4 separate regions of the Homo sapiens genome follow, and regions 2, 3 and 4 are each linked to region 1. Evidence: promoter capture Hi-C in 16 types of primary human blood cells and fetal thymus (Javierre and others, 2016). All regions are on one chromosome and are shown on one strand. Each heading gives the region's core, a stretch centred on a gene start or on the middle of the fragment in contact. The rest is flanking DNA. Distances are from core to core; before and after follow the strand shown.

Evidence for each region. Contacts are between HindIII fragments. The CHiCAGO score rates a contact against its expected background, and 5 or more counts as called.
Region 2: a contact is called between a fragment that was not itself captured here and the fragment with the promoter of HECTD1 in region 1, in 1 of 17 cell types (M0 macrophages). The highest score is 7.2, in M0 macrophages.
Region 3: a contact is called between a fragment that was not itself captured here and the fragment with the promoter of HECTD1 in region 1, in 1 of 17 cell types (M0 macrophages). The highest score is 6.0, in M0 macrophages.
Region 4: a contact is called between a fragment that was not itself captured here and the fragment with the promoter of HECTD1 in region 1, in 1 of 17 cell types (fetal thymus). The highest score is 6.6, in fetal thymus.

What each region holds. Positions count from the first base shown.
Region 1 is chr14:31,205,976-31,209,489 of GRCh38, reverse strand. It overlaps HECTD1 (HECT domain E3 ubiquitin protein ligase 1), which reads left to right and starts at 1,697. Exons shown (of 43, transcript NM_015382.4): 1 at 1,697-2,474. RefSeq lists enhancers at 756-1,267, 1,121-1,290, 1,268-1,779, 2,292-2,805 and silencers at 1,471-1,810, 2,111-2,320, 2,441-2,650. The HindIII fragment of the contact is 4,913 bases long and covers 1-3,223 here.
Region 2 is chr14:32,500,010-32,503,523 of GRCh38, reverse strand. The region is part of intron 2 of AKAP6 (A-kinase anchoring protein 6); the gene reads right to left. Among named protein-coding and RNA genes, the nearest start is that of AKAP6, 170 kb to the right of the region's middle. The HindIII fragment of the contact is 2,256 bases long and covers 630-2,885 here.
Region 3 is chr14:32,468,600-32,472,113 of GRCh38, reverse strand. All of the region lies in intron 2 of AKAP6 (A-kinase anchoring protein 6), which reads right to left. Among named protein-coding and RNA genes, the nearest start is that of AKAP6, 140 kb to the right of the region's middle. The HindIII fragment of the contact is 1,147 bases long and covers 1,343-2,489 here.
Region 4 is chr14:32,211,088-32,214,601 of GRCh38, reverse strand. No RefSeq gene overlaps it. Among named protein-coding and RNA genes, the nearest start is that of RNU6-8, 9.6 kb to the right of the region's middle. The HindIII fragment of the contact is 497 bases long and covers 1,708-2,204 here.

The sequences.
Region 1 (3,514 bases), core at 448-2,947:
CCTCCAGCTAGTCTCGTCTAGATAGATCCTTTTAGTCGTTCTAGACACTTTCCATAATTAGTCTTCTTAAGACTAGTTTTTCCAGTGTTGTAGTCCAGAACTTGCTACTTAGCTCAGCCTAATTTCTGCATTCCTCATTCAAGGCCTTCCCCACTTTAGCTCCAAATTTCTCTCTCTGTTGCTTACTGTTGGTTCTTTGCTGGGGGCACAGGTGACCTTTCCTATGTCTAGGAACATATCAGGCTTTATGTTCTTCCCTTTCCTTTCAGTGTCTACATTGTACCCATTCTTCAAGGTCCAGAGGGAATGCCACTTCCTTCTTGAAGTTTCCTGGCAGCTCCAATTCACACTCATGACATCTAAATAATTATCCTCATGTGTTGTACTTGGGACAAAATAGTTGAATCCTCTTTTTCCTCTTGTTTCGTTAACAGGATACCTAAACGGACCATTACCTGCGACAACGGGACATGCGCGGATAGCTATCTGAAGTACAAATTTGTCATTTCCAAAATACTGGTTCTTTTTCTAAAGAAGTAGTAAAAAAGAAAGAAAAAAAAGAACCAGTATTTTGGAAATGACAAATTTGCTTAGTCGCCCAGGCTGGAGTGAGGTGGCATTATCAAAGCTCACTGCAGCCTCAATTTCTTGGGCTCGAGGGATCATCCCATCTCAACCGCTCCAGTAGCTGGGACCATAGGTGTGCGTCACCGCATCTGGGTAATTATTTTTTAAATTTTAATTTTTTTGCAGAGACCAGGTCTATGTTGCTCAGGCTGGTCTCGAACTCCGGGCCTCAAGAGAGTAAAATCATAAAGTGCTGGGATTACAGGAAACGCAGCGGACCCAAATTCTGTTCTTTACTCATACCTAGCAGCTCCTCTGGTTGCCTGAGGGACCATGTCTCAAACACTATCATGTCGTATTAATTTTTCTTTTTGTTTAAAAGCTGAAAGTGAGAGTACAGTAGGACGTCTCCGGGCTCCAACTACGTCCTATAAGCATGCATCCTTTATTCTGAATGCGTGTGAAATAAAGTTTGAAAAGAATAACCACAGACATACTTGTGACCACAAGCCACAAGAAACGTAGTCAAAAGTGCACTCTCAGTGCTGCTGCCGACCGGGCACGGCGCTGGGCCTGCATTTGCGCTTTCCTGGAGCCTCAGTGTCTCATCTGTACAACGTTGATAATCGTCGGCAGCACCTCTTTCCCAGGGTTGCTCTGAAGGGTTTTCTTTGGGGTGAACCGCCAGGCGGTCGGCCTCCCAGGAGCGGGGGGAGACGCCTTCCTTACGCGACGCACTTCCGTGCGCGAGGAGGGAAGATCGTGGCTGAGTGCGGGTGGCCTGGGCGGAAGGCTCAGCGGGGACAGGTTGGGCCGCAGCTTTGCTGTGCTGTGCCGTGCGACGCCCTCCGCAGGAGCGCGCAAAGTGTTAGCCACGGCGCCAAGCAAGCTGGACGTGCGTGCATGAGCGCGCTCGGACTGACAGGGAAGCGAAAAGGGGGCCAGGGCGCACCATAGAAAAGCCGCGGCAGAAACGTACGACACAGCCCGAGGCGGCGGGGGCGAGAGCTCCGGGGCAGGGACGGCGACGCGGCGTACCCGGTTTGGCGCCCCTGCGCGGCGGTCGGCCGTCCCGCAGCGCCCCAGGTGGCCGCCGGCGGGGTCGCCGCCGGGGGAGTGGATTTGCTCCGCCTCCGCCGGGCTCGGCTGCCCTCGGCAGCTTCCCCGCCTGGCTCTCCCTCGACCCTCCTCCCCTCCCCCTCCCGGTTCGCGATGGACTGGGCCTCCCCGCCGCGCCGCCGCCGCCGTCGCCCGCAGCACCGCGCGGGCCTCTGAGTTGCAGGGCCTGAGGAGCCGCGTGCTGGGGACTGGACGTCCGCTGGCTGCTGCCGCACGCGAGAACCTCTCGCTTCCCTGTCACCAGGTCCTCGCGGAGGAAGGGGAGGGACGAGGCGCGGCTTTTCCTGTGCCGCCTGCCCGGTTCGACCTGCGCGGCCTGCGGCTTCTTGGGAACTCTAGGGCCGCGGCCGGGCCTGGCTCTGCCGGCGGCCTGTTGGGAGCTGGATCGGAGCGGTTTGGAACGACAAGCCCGAGTAAGAGCCTGCGGGAAGGGGAGGCGGGAGCGCCTCGGACCGTCGGAAGGGCCCTGCGTGGGGGCGCGGATCCCGGACGCCCGGCGAGTGGCGGAAAGCGAGACCCCGGCGCCGAGTGAGGTCGGCCAGGCTGCTGCCGACTTCCCCGCTGGCCCCTTTGTTCCCCTCCCGGGGCCCTGCCGGCGGCGGGGCCCGGTTGCCCGCGCCAGAGCCTCAGGCCGGCTCCTTTTGCCCTTGAGAAGGGTTCGCTGCCAGGCCTTCGAGTTCCGGGCGCAGCTCCCGGGAGAGCCGGCGCCCTGCCTGGCCCGGCGGCCTCCTCTCGGGCACGAAGGCTTGCTGCTGCTTCTCCAGAACTTCCCTTCCTCGTAGACACAGGTAGTTAACTTAGCGGGGTTTGGTGCTGGGGAACCACAGCGCGGGGGCCAGCGCCTCTCAGCGCCCGGCTCGGCCGGGCCCCGGGTGTGGGGTCAACCCCGCTGGTCGCCGCCGTTGGGTGCCCACCGCGCCCCGCCGCCGGCTTCCCACACTTGCGGCTGCGTTACGTGGGACCCAAAGCTGTCCTCCAGTCAGGGCGCTTACGGGGCGCTTTTGTAATGACTTACCTGTTGGGGTTGCTTCTCGGTTTTGTTTTTGTTTTTTTAACCAACTGCCCTATCTTGTGAAGCTGGGGAAAGAGGGCCCTAGGTTGGCCTACATTCGTTCGGATCCGTAACCTGCTGGTCCATTGCATTTACTTTTAGCCTTTCCTTTTTTAATTTTTTTATTTTTTTAACTTTTAAGAATAGTTGCCAAGACTGCCAAAATTCCTAACCAACTCTTTATTCATAGATAAATCTTGTATATAATTGTCGTTTGTATTTGGATATCTTTAAAATAGAAGTAAATTGAGAAGTCAGCAGAATATGTGAAATTGGAGGTAATTTTGAAGGAGAAACAATTTGGAGGGGGATTGGATCAAGGTGTTTAGAGTTTCCTCAAAATACTGAATCTAACCCTTATCTGAAGATCAGTTTTGGGTAGAGAAGGAGGGGGATGAAGTTTGCTGGAAAAAACAGAACCTTTAGTTAGGTGTTCTTTGCCTTTTGGCATAGACTTTAGTGATAGCAGTAGTGGGACCTGAAGCTTGACTGACTGTCTTTGACACAGACAGCTCTGGTTTCTAGTTAAGCAGCAACCTAATCAGCTTATATACTCTTGTGCAAAACTGGTTTTCATTTGGTATGATATCTGTACGTTAAACCTGGCGGATAAGGAAAGTTGAAAAACTGCATTAAGCACTCTTACGTCCAAACGTACTTAGGAGTCTTTTTTAATTGCTAGGAGGACACTATGAAAATTTGGTTCTAGCAGATGTAAAGGAAGAAAAATTTAAGCCCAAGCTGTTCAGTCCCGGAATTTAAAGGACTTTTCTCCCT
Region 2 (3,514 bases), core at 508-3,007, 1.3 Mb before region 1:
AACCCTGTAAGTTACATATAACCCTGTAGTGAAGAAAGACTTCTGAATTCAAAATCCAGGGCCATTAAAAGAAAGATAAATTTGACTACAGTAGAAAAAGAAAAGGAATGCATAGTAATGAAAAAAGATGCCATAAGTAAAGTCAAAAGACAAATGAAAAACTGGTAGAAAAAATATTGCAGCTTATACCACACAGCTTATCCCCATAATAAATACAGAGCTCCTATAAGTCAAAAAAGAAAAGACCAACAACACAACTGAAAAATAGGGAAAGGATATGAGCACAGTTCATAGAACAAGTAACACAAATGATCGTTAAACATATGAAAAGATGCTCACTTTTCTCACAGTAAAAGAAATATAATTTTAAGCTACACTAAAATATCATTTTCAGACACAGAGCAAAAAAAAATTTCATAACACAATCTATGGGGAAAGGCACATGAAATAGGCACTATTAAGTATTCCTGGTTGGACGGTAAATTAGTGCAACCACTGTGGAAAGCAGTTTGGCCATTTCTATTAAATTCCAAATGCATATACTATATATATTGACTAGCAATTCTACTTCTGAGAATTTATGTATGCAATATGTTTACATTTTTTGTGAAATGACTTATGTTCAAGCTTATTTATTGCAATACAGTTTGTAATATCCAAAGATTGGAAACAGACTAAATGTTCATCAGTATGGTACATTTATTCAGTAGAGCACTACACAACTATAAGAATGAGGATAATAAGAAGACTTTATATTCTGACGCAGAAAGATCTTCATGGTGTATAAAGTTTAAAAAGCAAGGTGCAGAACAGTATGTATAGGATAAAACAGGAGGAAAACTAAGAATATATATTCACATTTGCTTATAAATGCATATACAAATTCTAGAAGAATATGCAAGAAGAGAAGAATGAGTACCTACAAAGTTGGGTTACAAAAGGGAGAAACTGTTAGAAAGGCCAGCTCTCTGCATTGGAGTATAAAAGGTGGCGTTTTCACTGTATATCTTTTCATATTTTTAAATTTTTGGCTCTGTAAATGTATTTCATATTCACAAATATAAGACAGACAGCAACAAAAACTCTAAACCAGTTTGCCGTGGGTAATTTAAAGCTAAAGGGCAGTGGTCCAATTAAACTGTCTTCAATAAAAGCTGCTCTTGATGGACACTTGTGTTATAATCAGTAATCCATGGAGAGCAGTCACTCTTTACCACCAGTCTCCTTTGAGGAATATTTATCTCATTTCTCCATCTAAAATATCTCCTTTCATTTAAGAAATAAAACAGCTTATCCAAGCACTTCAGTTCAATAATTTCACCATTAAGAGCACTTCTGTTACTATTCTTCTAAGCACTTTTAAAAAGCTAAAAACTTCAATTGAACAGACTGTTCATTATAACATAAAATACAATTTATACATTGATTGAAATGGCTTGATGAGGACCTTAACAATCTTTTGCTTTGAATGAGGAGCTTCAGTATGAGGAAGGAAAAGGCCCACTCAAAATGATAATGCAATGCTGAAAATAGTACTATTAGTTAAACGATCCAGTAATAAGGCATATTTGCTTCATTATACTGGGCGCTTATCATTTTCTAAAACAGAAGTAATAGGATACTGTCATTAAGTCAGAGTACAGCCTAGGAGAGCCAATGTGATAAAATATTGAAGACATAGGTTTACTGCAAGAGCTGCATCTACATGCACAGAGTTAAAGGGGAGGTTGAAGGACAAATAAAGGAAAGAAAGAAGGGCAGTCTGATGGAAGAAATATCACTCCAGAGAGTGAAGACCTCGCATCTACTTACATTTTCTCATTAACAAGAGTGTCAGTTAATCTGCCTGGGCATCAATTTCCTGATCTGTAAAATATGGTAATAATAATACCTTATGCTGTGGTAAAGACTCTACTCTGTACTCGCCAAACCTATTTTTTTTTCCTCCTGGGCACACAGCTAAATGACATTTTCCAGGTGCCCTGGGCAGTTAGTTAGATCAGGTCATATGGACTAAATACTGGCCAATGGAACGTGGGTAGAAGTGATATACTTTGGTGCCAGGTTGAATCCTTAAAACTTCCTTTGAGATATTTTATGTACTCTCTTTTCCTTGTCTGCTGACTGGATTCTGAAGATCGAGGATTCTGAGGTCCTAGAAAAATGAACCTCTAGATCTGTACTGTCCAATGTGGTAGCACTTGAAATGTTTTTGCTAGTCCAAATTGAGATGTATTCTAAGTATAAGATACACACTGGATTTCAAAAACTTTGTGTGCAAAAAAGAATTTGAAATTGTTTATTAATAATTTTATATTAATTACATGTTAAAACAATATTTTGGACAAATTGGGTTAAATAAGAGATATTAAAATTTATTGTGTTTTTACTTTCTTGATTTAGAAAATTTAAAAATCGCAAGTATGATTCATTTGTGGCTTCTACTGTATTTTTATTGGACAGGGTTGCTTAGGAGGGAAGGAACCTCAGTCCTTGAATAACTGATAGAGCAGAGCTTTCCAAATACTTTGGTGTGCCACAGGCTAGAATGCACTTGCAATGGGAAACTTCAGGGCTTGACCTTTGTTCTTTAAGAGTCCATTTGAAGGTTCCCTGTATACATACCTGCCCCAGTTAAGGTAAAGGAAAAAGGAACTTGTTTATACCAAGTCAGGATAAAGGGAATGGGGGAAGGTATCTTATGATATGGTGGTGACTATGACCATCATACCTGTAGACACTAGAAACATCTGGCATAACTAGCAAAGAAAAAGAGAAAAGGTTGGGAGACACAAAGATCAGTCAAGAATACACAGCCCTTTTGATACAGACTTTTCCCCATATATGGTAATTAAGACTAAAGTACAGAACTTCTCAGGGAAGCTTCTGTACTCAAATCTTCACCATTCTAAGTAGTATTAGCACCTACACTGGCAACACCATACCAATTCTGGGTAGATATGCTGCATGAACACAACTTCAACCATTGGCACCTATGCATCCCATATAGTAAGTGTGCCCTCCTTCCAACCAGGGACTCTGGGGAAGTATGCTCAGCGTCACAGAGTGACAGAAGTATAGGAAGTGATCATTGGTTCACTATTGTATTATCCCTCTGTCCTTGTAATAAGAATCACATTCAGACATAATGCAATATTCATTTTAAGCTAGATGTCAATAAATAATCTTATCAAGTAAATACTTCATGGCAATCTGCCAAATGAACAGGTCATGGGTTATGTGTGGGTAACTACTTCTCTACAAAGCACATTCAAGTATTTTGTTAGCAAGATCATTGCTTAAAATAATCTGTTTATATTTCCTGCTGATAACTTCATGGATCATGCTGATGAAACATGTTAAGTGAGTTTTCCTTCCCTCTTCTCGTCTCTCTTTTCTTGAAAGTAAAGACCTAGTCTAACTGGATAAAGTACAAAGATCCTGGAAAAAAGAATCAAAATCTGAGTTTTGGGTGTTTCTTAGACATATCAATTACAATTAGATTTTTATAGAT
Region 3 (3,514 bases), core at 667-3,166, 1.3 Mb before region 1:
CTCAGAGGTGCTTTTCCCAAGAACTCACCCCAATAAACCTCCAGCATGTAGATCTCAGAGCCTCAGAATCCGATTCCTGGGAACCCAAACTATGACAAAAAGTAAATTCTCAAACCTCTCTTTTATCTTAAGGAACAATCCACTAGGTTTCTGTGTGCTGAAGTCTGAAAGAAATCTCATAGGGACTATTTTTCTTGGTTTACTCACAATTGTGCCAGCACAAAAATCCTGACCCAGAATGCTTAACACGCTGCGTTATCTGTGCTTCCTTAGCACAGATAACACAGTGTCCAGTGTCTTATTAGCCAAACTCCAGTCTAGAAGCAATGTCAACAGAATTACTGTTAAAATGGAGGTGAGACAGATAATAAAAACAGTTTATACCATGGATGGAGGTACATGTCTCAATGAACAATAACTGTGCAATGAAGATATTAGCTATAGCCCTGGTGGGGGGTACAGGATTCCACCTACCCAAATTGGGTGAGAGAATGTTGAAAGGGTTTACAATGAAAATTGAGTAAATGTATAATACACTTAGGAGAAAAGACAATGGCCTATGAAACTAAGTCTCAGCTCTCGCCATGGACTTGGATTCCCCCACTGACAAGAAAGACTTAAACTATTAAAAGGTTCAGCCTGCTAATTCACAGTTTAGGAAGTAGCACTATGATCTTGCTTTTGGTCCACAATTTCTTATTACTACCACCGTCCATAAACGCATTACAGAACTGGTCATGGATCAGATGACTTCTACTATCTTTAGCTGTGTGACTATGAAACACTAGGAAAATGTAGAAATACAGAGATAATGACATAAGCCTAACCCATGGTACTTAGTGCTAACTTTGGCAGTACATTTTATGATTATGGAGACAATCTTGGTGTTTATTATTTAAAATTATTGAAACGTTTTTAAAGAATCCAAAATACAAAACTGCCTTGAAGTTTTAATTTGAAATGTTGAATGGATATCGGCCATGATTTTAATAAAGGTAAGAATTTGATTAATTTTGTAATATGAAAGAACCTAGTTTATCATAGTTATAAATTTGGTTTATTACATTTTCAAAACTGGCCTAAGTTCACTGAAAGATTTGGCCTAGTTAGGTTTCTAAGTCTATCCTCATGTATCTAAAGTATTTGAGATTATTAGATGGATTAAAGGTCTTAGGAAAATTAACTAAATTTGTGAATGACATTCATTTGTTAAACTTATGAACTAATTCAACATTAACCAAAAATCAAATGGCTGTTACTGCTCTTGTAGTAAACTAACTAGATTTTTAAATAGAAGAAAGAGATGGGTAAAAGAAAATTTAGACTTAAGAAAAATCAAGCTTTAAATTTTCCAATTTATTCATAATTCTAGCTCTAAGTATTGCTTTCTACTTCAATTGTCAGGAATTATTTAAGCCTACCTCTATTGTCTGTTCAAACTACGATTCTATCATACCGAACTTAAATATTTTGTTGGCATTTGCATGCCCTAAAATTTCAGAGCTGGCAGTTTTCCTCTCAGCTGCTTTAAATGGCTCCCTGATTACTTTCCCCAGAGATGAAGCTGACAGATCCAGTGGGAAAGGACTGTGCCTTCTTTGTTCAGTTGCTGATGTGAGCCCTAACGACAGCAGTGATACAATTTACATTCAATAAGCCATGAGTCAGAGAATATCATCTAACTTTTTATGAGAATAAGATACTGTAAATTCAAACTTGTAATGAAAGACCTTACTCTTGGTTTGACTGCTGTTCAGTCTTCTGGCAGGGATGGGTAGGGTGGGATACAAGAAATGCCTGAAACATTGCTTCTCAAATCTTAATGTGCATCTGAATCACCTGGGGATCTTGTTAAAATGCAGGGAGACAAGAATCCTGCATTTCTAACAGTTCCCAGGTGTGGCCCAAGCGTCCAGTCCACAGACCACACTTTGAGTAGTAAAGCTCTAAATATCAAATAGCCTAGTTGATGTTTTGTGGGTTTTTTAGTGATGAAGATTCTGTTGAGGGTGGAGGAAAGGGAGTGATGGTATGTAAGTGCTAACCCTGGATCTAATATGACATCATTTTATATTAGTAATTATATTCAGAAGACTTGATGTTTTACCACTTAATATTTGTTCATTGGAAGAGCAACTGAACTTAAAGCAAATCAGTAATTTCCCAACATCTACAGCCTATTTTATTAGAAAATAAAAAGATAAACATCTGATTTGAAAAGCGATAAAATATGTCATATATGCATGTCAAGCATCAGTTCTGATCTTTAGGTAACTGAAGGCATAATCTTTCATTTTGGAAACAGACATAATGCAATCTCTGTATCATAACTTTAGAAACATCTCCGAGCAGCATGTCTGGCTGACGAGCCAAGACAAGTATAATAATAAAAAAAAAAAATTTGTGACATTAAAAATATCAGATCTCAAAAAAAAAAAGACATTCTTTTAACTAGCGAGGCAAAGAAAAATGGGAAAGCTATAAAAGCTTGTTTCTTTATCAACAGTAGGTGGTGCTACAATACAAGTAAACAGTAAATGTACAGCAAGTACTTTTCTTGTCAGCATTCAAATAATGATTTAGTTATTATTACACTTTCTTACAGATCAAGATCAAAACTGTCTTGACTTTATTATACAGATTATTGGACATGTTTTCAAAAGTTTTCTACTACCAAGAAACGCTAGGAATCTACTGGTAGTTTAATATGTCAAATAATCTAACTTTTTTTAAATGTATAAACTTTTGTGTGCCTATCTTGTTTTTAATTCTTCTTAAATTACTTGGGGGAATGCTAGTGATCATAGTTTGTTATACACTGGCATACCAAGGAGGTTGTGAAAATCTCCTCCGTTGGAGACTGTTGAAAAGCAACACAAAACCCTCTATTGCTTTCACAGGACTTCTTCAAAGCAAGTTGATGAACTTTACCAGGCAATGCCTAGAAATTATTTCCTGGCACAAAGTCTAGTGGCAGGACAGGAAAACACTTCCCCAGAGTTGCAACAGTTCTCACAGTACACCCCATGAGTCAGGGAGGTATGACAAAACAGACGAGGGATCAGCAAATTTTCTAGTGGAATGCCTAGTTAATACCTCTTCCAATAGCATTCATTACTGTAGAGTTTAGGACAGTTTTTCACACATTCCACTAGGCAGAGATTAATTTGGACTAAACCTACCTATTATTCATATATTATTAATAATCACTTAAAACAGATGCTCTAAAATCAGTATCCTAGAAATAATAATTTTGATGAAGGTGGAATAAGATTGTTAGAGCAAAGGGGGGCAAGTCCAATTAGAACGCAGGACATTTGAGGAATGGCAAGTCTTTGGAAGTGGTTGTGTTTCTGTCAGGGCTTTGATGAGACGAAAACAACATAAGGATATGGAGTACCTGGGAGAAAGAATGGAGGGACAAAGATGGGAGGAGGGAGGACAATAAAACATAACAAAAACAAAAATCCTGATTTGCGCTTTTGTCTTAAGTCATGGTAGCACAGATGTGTAA
Region 4 (3,514 bases), core at 707-3,206, 1.0 Mb before region 1:
GCCACTGAACTCCAGCCTGGGCGACAGAGCGAGGGAAAAAAAGTTCAAGGTCTCAGCCTGGCCAATATGGTGAAACCCTGTCTCTACTAAAAATACAAAAATTAGCTGAGTGTGGTGGCGGTTGCCTGTAATCCCAGTACTCAGGAGACTGAGGCAGAAGAATCGCTTGAACCCGGGAGGTGAAGGTTGCGGTGAGCCGAGATTGTGCCATTGCACTCCCGCCTGGGTAACGAGAGAGAGAGACTCGGTATCAAAAAAAAAAAAAAATAATAAAATAAAAAAAAAATAAAAAAAGCTCAAGGTCAAAGTTCATTGAGCAAAATAAATCTAATTTAGTCTAAGGAAACCATCAAAGGGCAGTTTAACTCTGTGACAAAATAGAAGAATGGAAGTTCCTCCTCTAATCAGCATCAGTCCATTTGATTTCCCTTCCCATAAGCAACTCTAGCCATTGCTTATGGGAAGGGATTTATAATAATGTAGTCAATGTAGCAAAATCTCCTTTACCAAAGTAAGTTCTGTGACCATTGAAATTTCTAATGAATATATTTTGAGAATATATCATCAAAGGCAAGAGTAAAGAAATTGTGTGTAAATAATGGACTGTAGGCAATATTTTGGAGTAATGAGGAGTGCAGTTGATAGAAAAGAAAATTCTAATGTGGAAGGCAGAGAATCACTACTGTTTCTTAAAGAGATGAGTGACATGGTGAAAATGGTGTTTGTACAAATGGCAGACAATTATGCACAAAAGGGATTACAGGAAGAGGAGAGAAGCTAGAAGACTTCTGTTTTGGGTGGTGGTTCTTTTTTTTTTTTTTTGAGACACAGTCTCACTCTGTCACCCAGGCTGGAGTGCAGTGGCACATTCTCAATTCACTGCAACCCCCACCTCCCGGGTTCAAGCAATTCTTATGCCTCAGCCTCCTGAGTAGGTGGGATTATACAGGTGTGCGTCATCAGGCCTGGCTAATTTTTTGTATTTTAGTAAAGATGGGATTTCACCATGTTGCCCAGGCTGGTCTCCAACTCCTGAGCTCAAGCAATCTGCCCACCTTGGCCTCCCAAAGTGCTAGAATCCACAGGCATGAGCCACCACGCCCAGCCTTAAAGCTAGAAGACTTTTGGATAGTTCAGGTATGAGGCAGTGTGGGTGGGGGCTTAGAGCTCCAAGAGAATGAGATGTAATGTGAATGAAGCCTGGAGAGGAGGAATCAACTGGACTTTGTGAATAACTCCATGAGAGAGGAGGAGGAGGCCCAAGAAGAAAGGAGGAAGGCAGAATAGAGGAGGAAGAAGATGACTACATTTTCAAAACTTTGGTCCAGGCAAGGTGACAGGGAAAAGAAACCTGTATTGACTTGTGGAAGGTTAGTTAGTTTTAGGCTCCTGGAATGTAAGATTAAAAAAAAAAAAAAAAAAAAAGGAAAGATTAAAAACCAGGCCAACAATTGGAGAACACAGTGATTTACAAAGGGTAGCTAGCCCACAGAGCCCTGCATCAGAATCCCCTGGGTGCCTGTTCAAATACAGATTCCAGGGCTCCTCTCCAGACCTACTAAATCACAGTTCCCAGTGCTGGGACCCAGGAATCTGGATCATATGAGTTCACAGAAGGGACATACTGAGCACACTGGCCTGTATCCCCTATTGAACCAGAGATGCACATATGCACACTCTGTATACCAAATCCCAAGTGGCTAAGCTTACCCAAGGTTATTGAAGTGGAAGCAGGATCCAAGCACTAAGGCTGGGGGTCTCAGTGGTTATGGGTTATGGGTTATGGATAGAGCAGCCAGTGAGGGATACAGAAAACAAGAAGTTTATAAACTTAGCATGAACCAGGATTATACATCACAAGAATGAGGACGTTTCTAGTGGAAGCATCATTGGATAGTTGAATGTTGGGTTTTGCCCCACCCCCCCCATTCTGAAGTACTAGGTGATTATACTGGAACCTTAACAGCTGACTAAGAATACAGTTTGAGCCTGCTGATACTCACTCTAGGCAATAACAAAGATCAATTGGCTAATAGTAGGTACAAGTAGTAAAACATTTAAGTCTTAATTTCCTCAAAGAGACAGCAGATCTTACCTCTCTCATTTTCATCATGTATTTAATAAACAGGACCCAAATGTACAAAACGTTTGTGTTAAAAAAATTAAGAAACATGTTAAACAGATAATACCTAATATTCTAAGCTTTGGGTGGCAGGGAAGGTGACTGGCCCTAAGTTTGCTTTCCCTTAAAGTTACACCGTTTCCTTTCCAATGTTGTTGTTTTTAACTGGTCATAATTTCCAAGATAACAGCTGACTACTGGGTTGTATTCCTCAGCTTAAGAATTGTAGGCAAGTGCTCTTCAGGATGTAGTGAAGGTCTCTGATGCAAATGCCCAAATGTTTTTGAATTAATGAATTATAAAAATCCGGCCGGGCATGGTGGCTCACACCTGTCATCCCAGCACTTTGGGAGGCCGAGGTGGGCAGATCACAAGGTCAAGAGATGAGACCATCCTGGCCAACATGGTAAAACCCCATCTCTACTAAAAATACAAAAATTAGCTGGGTGTGGTGGCATGTGCCTGTAGTCCCAGCTACTCGGAAGGGTGAGGCAGGAGAATTGCTTGAACCCAATAGGCGGAGGTTGCAGTGAGCCAAGATCGTGCCACTGCACTCCAACCTGGAGACAGAGCGAGACTCCATCTCAAAAAAAAAAAAAAAAACTAAAATAAAAAATAAATTTAAAAAATTCCAATCACCGCAAACCTTAAAACTGAAAAGTTTCTCACCGCAACAACAGCAATTTACACACCTGCTATGCTTTGCAATGTAAAGGCACAAGCGTTTCTCACAGATCTTTCTGTCAACCCTAAAAGGCAAGCAGGGTAGTTATTATCCCCATTTCATAAGAGAATGTGGGTTGTTCAAGGGCTGGGACTGGGGTTTGAATTCTGACCATCAGACCAAAATATCGTTCCATGACACCCAAAACACACAATTAATTAAAAAGAAATTTTTTTCACTCTGTAAAAATAATTGGACAGGAAGATTTGATTAATAAGTGTTTTACTTGCAATTAACACTATCAAATATGACAACAGGGGCAGCCTCAGTTTTTTTGGTAGATTGAAACTTAGACTTCTTGGTAAACAAAAACCTTCATGAGCTGTGTGAATGAACAGAGTTGATGGGGGGAGTGAAATCACAGCGTCAATAAAGAGATGTGAAATGTAAAGGCTTTATGCACCTTGGGTCCTAGCATGAGAAATTAACTCCTACCCACCTTTACAACCCAGGAATATACAGAGCCATTCCTAGAAGCAGTGAGGCTGGCCCATAGAGGCGATCATGTAGGAGGGCCTGAACAGCCACCAGGGGAAGAAGTGAGTGGAGGCTCATAATAGGAGTCCAGGGGTGTGTGTCACTCAGACCCACTGTTCTAGAATGATTCAGGTTAAACCTAGCTAGAGTAGAAGTGGCTAAGATTAAAAAGTTAATTACAGGCCAGGCGT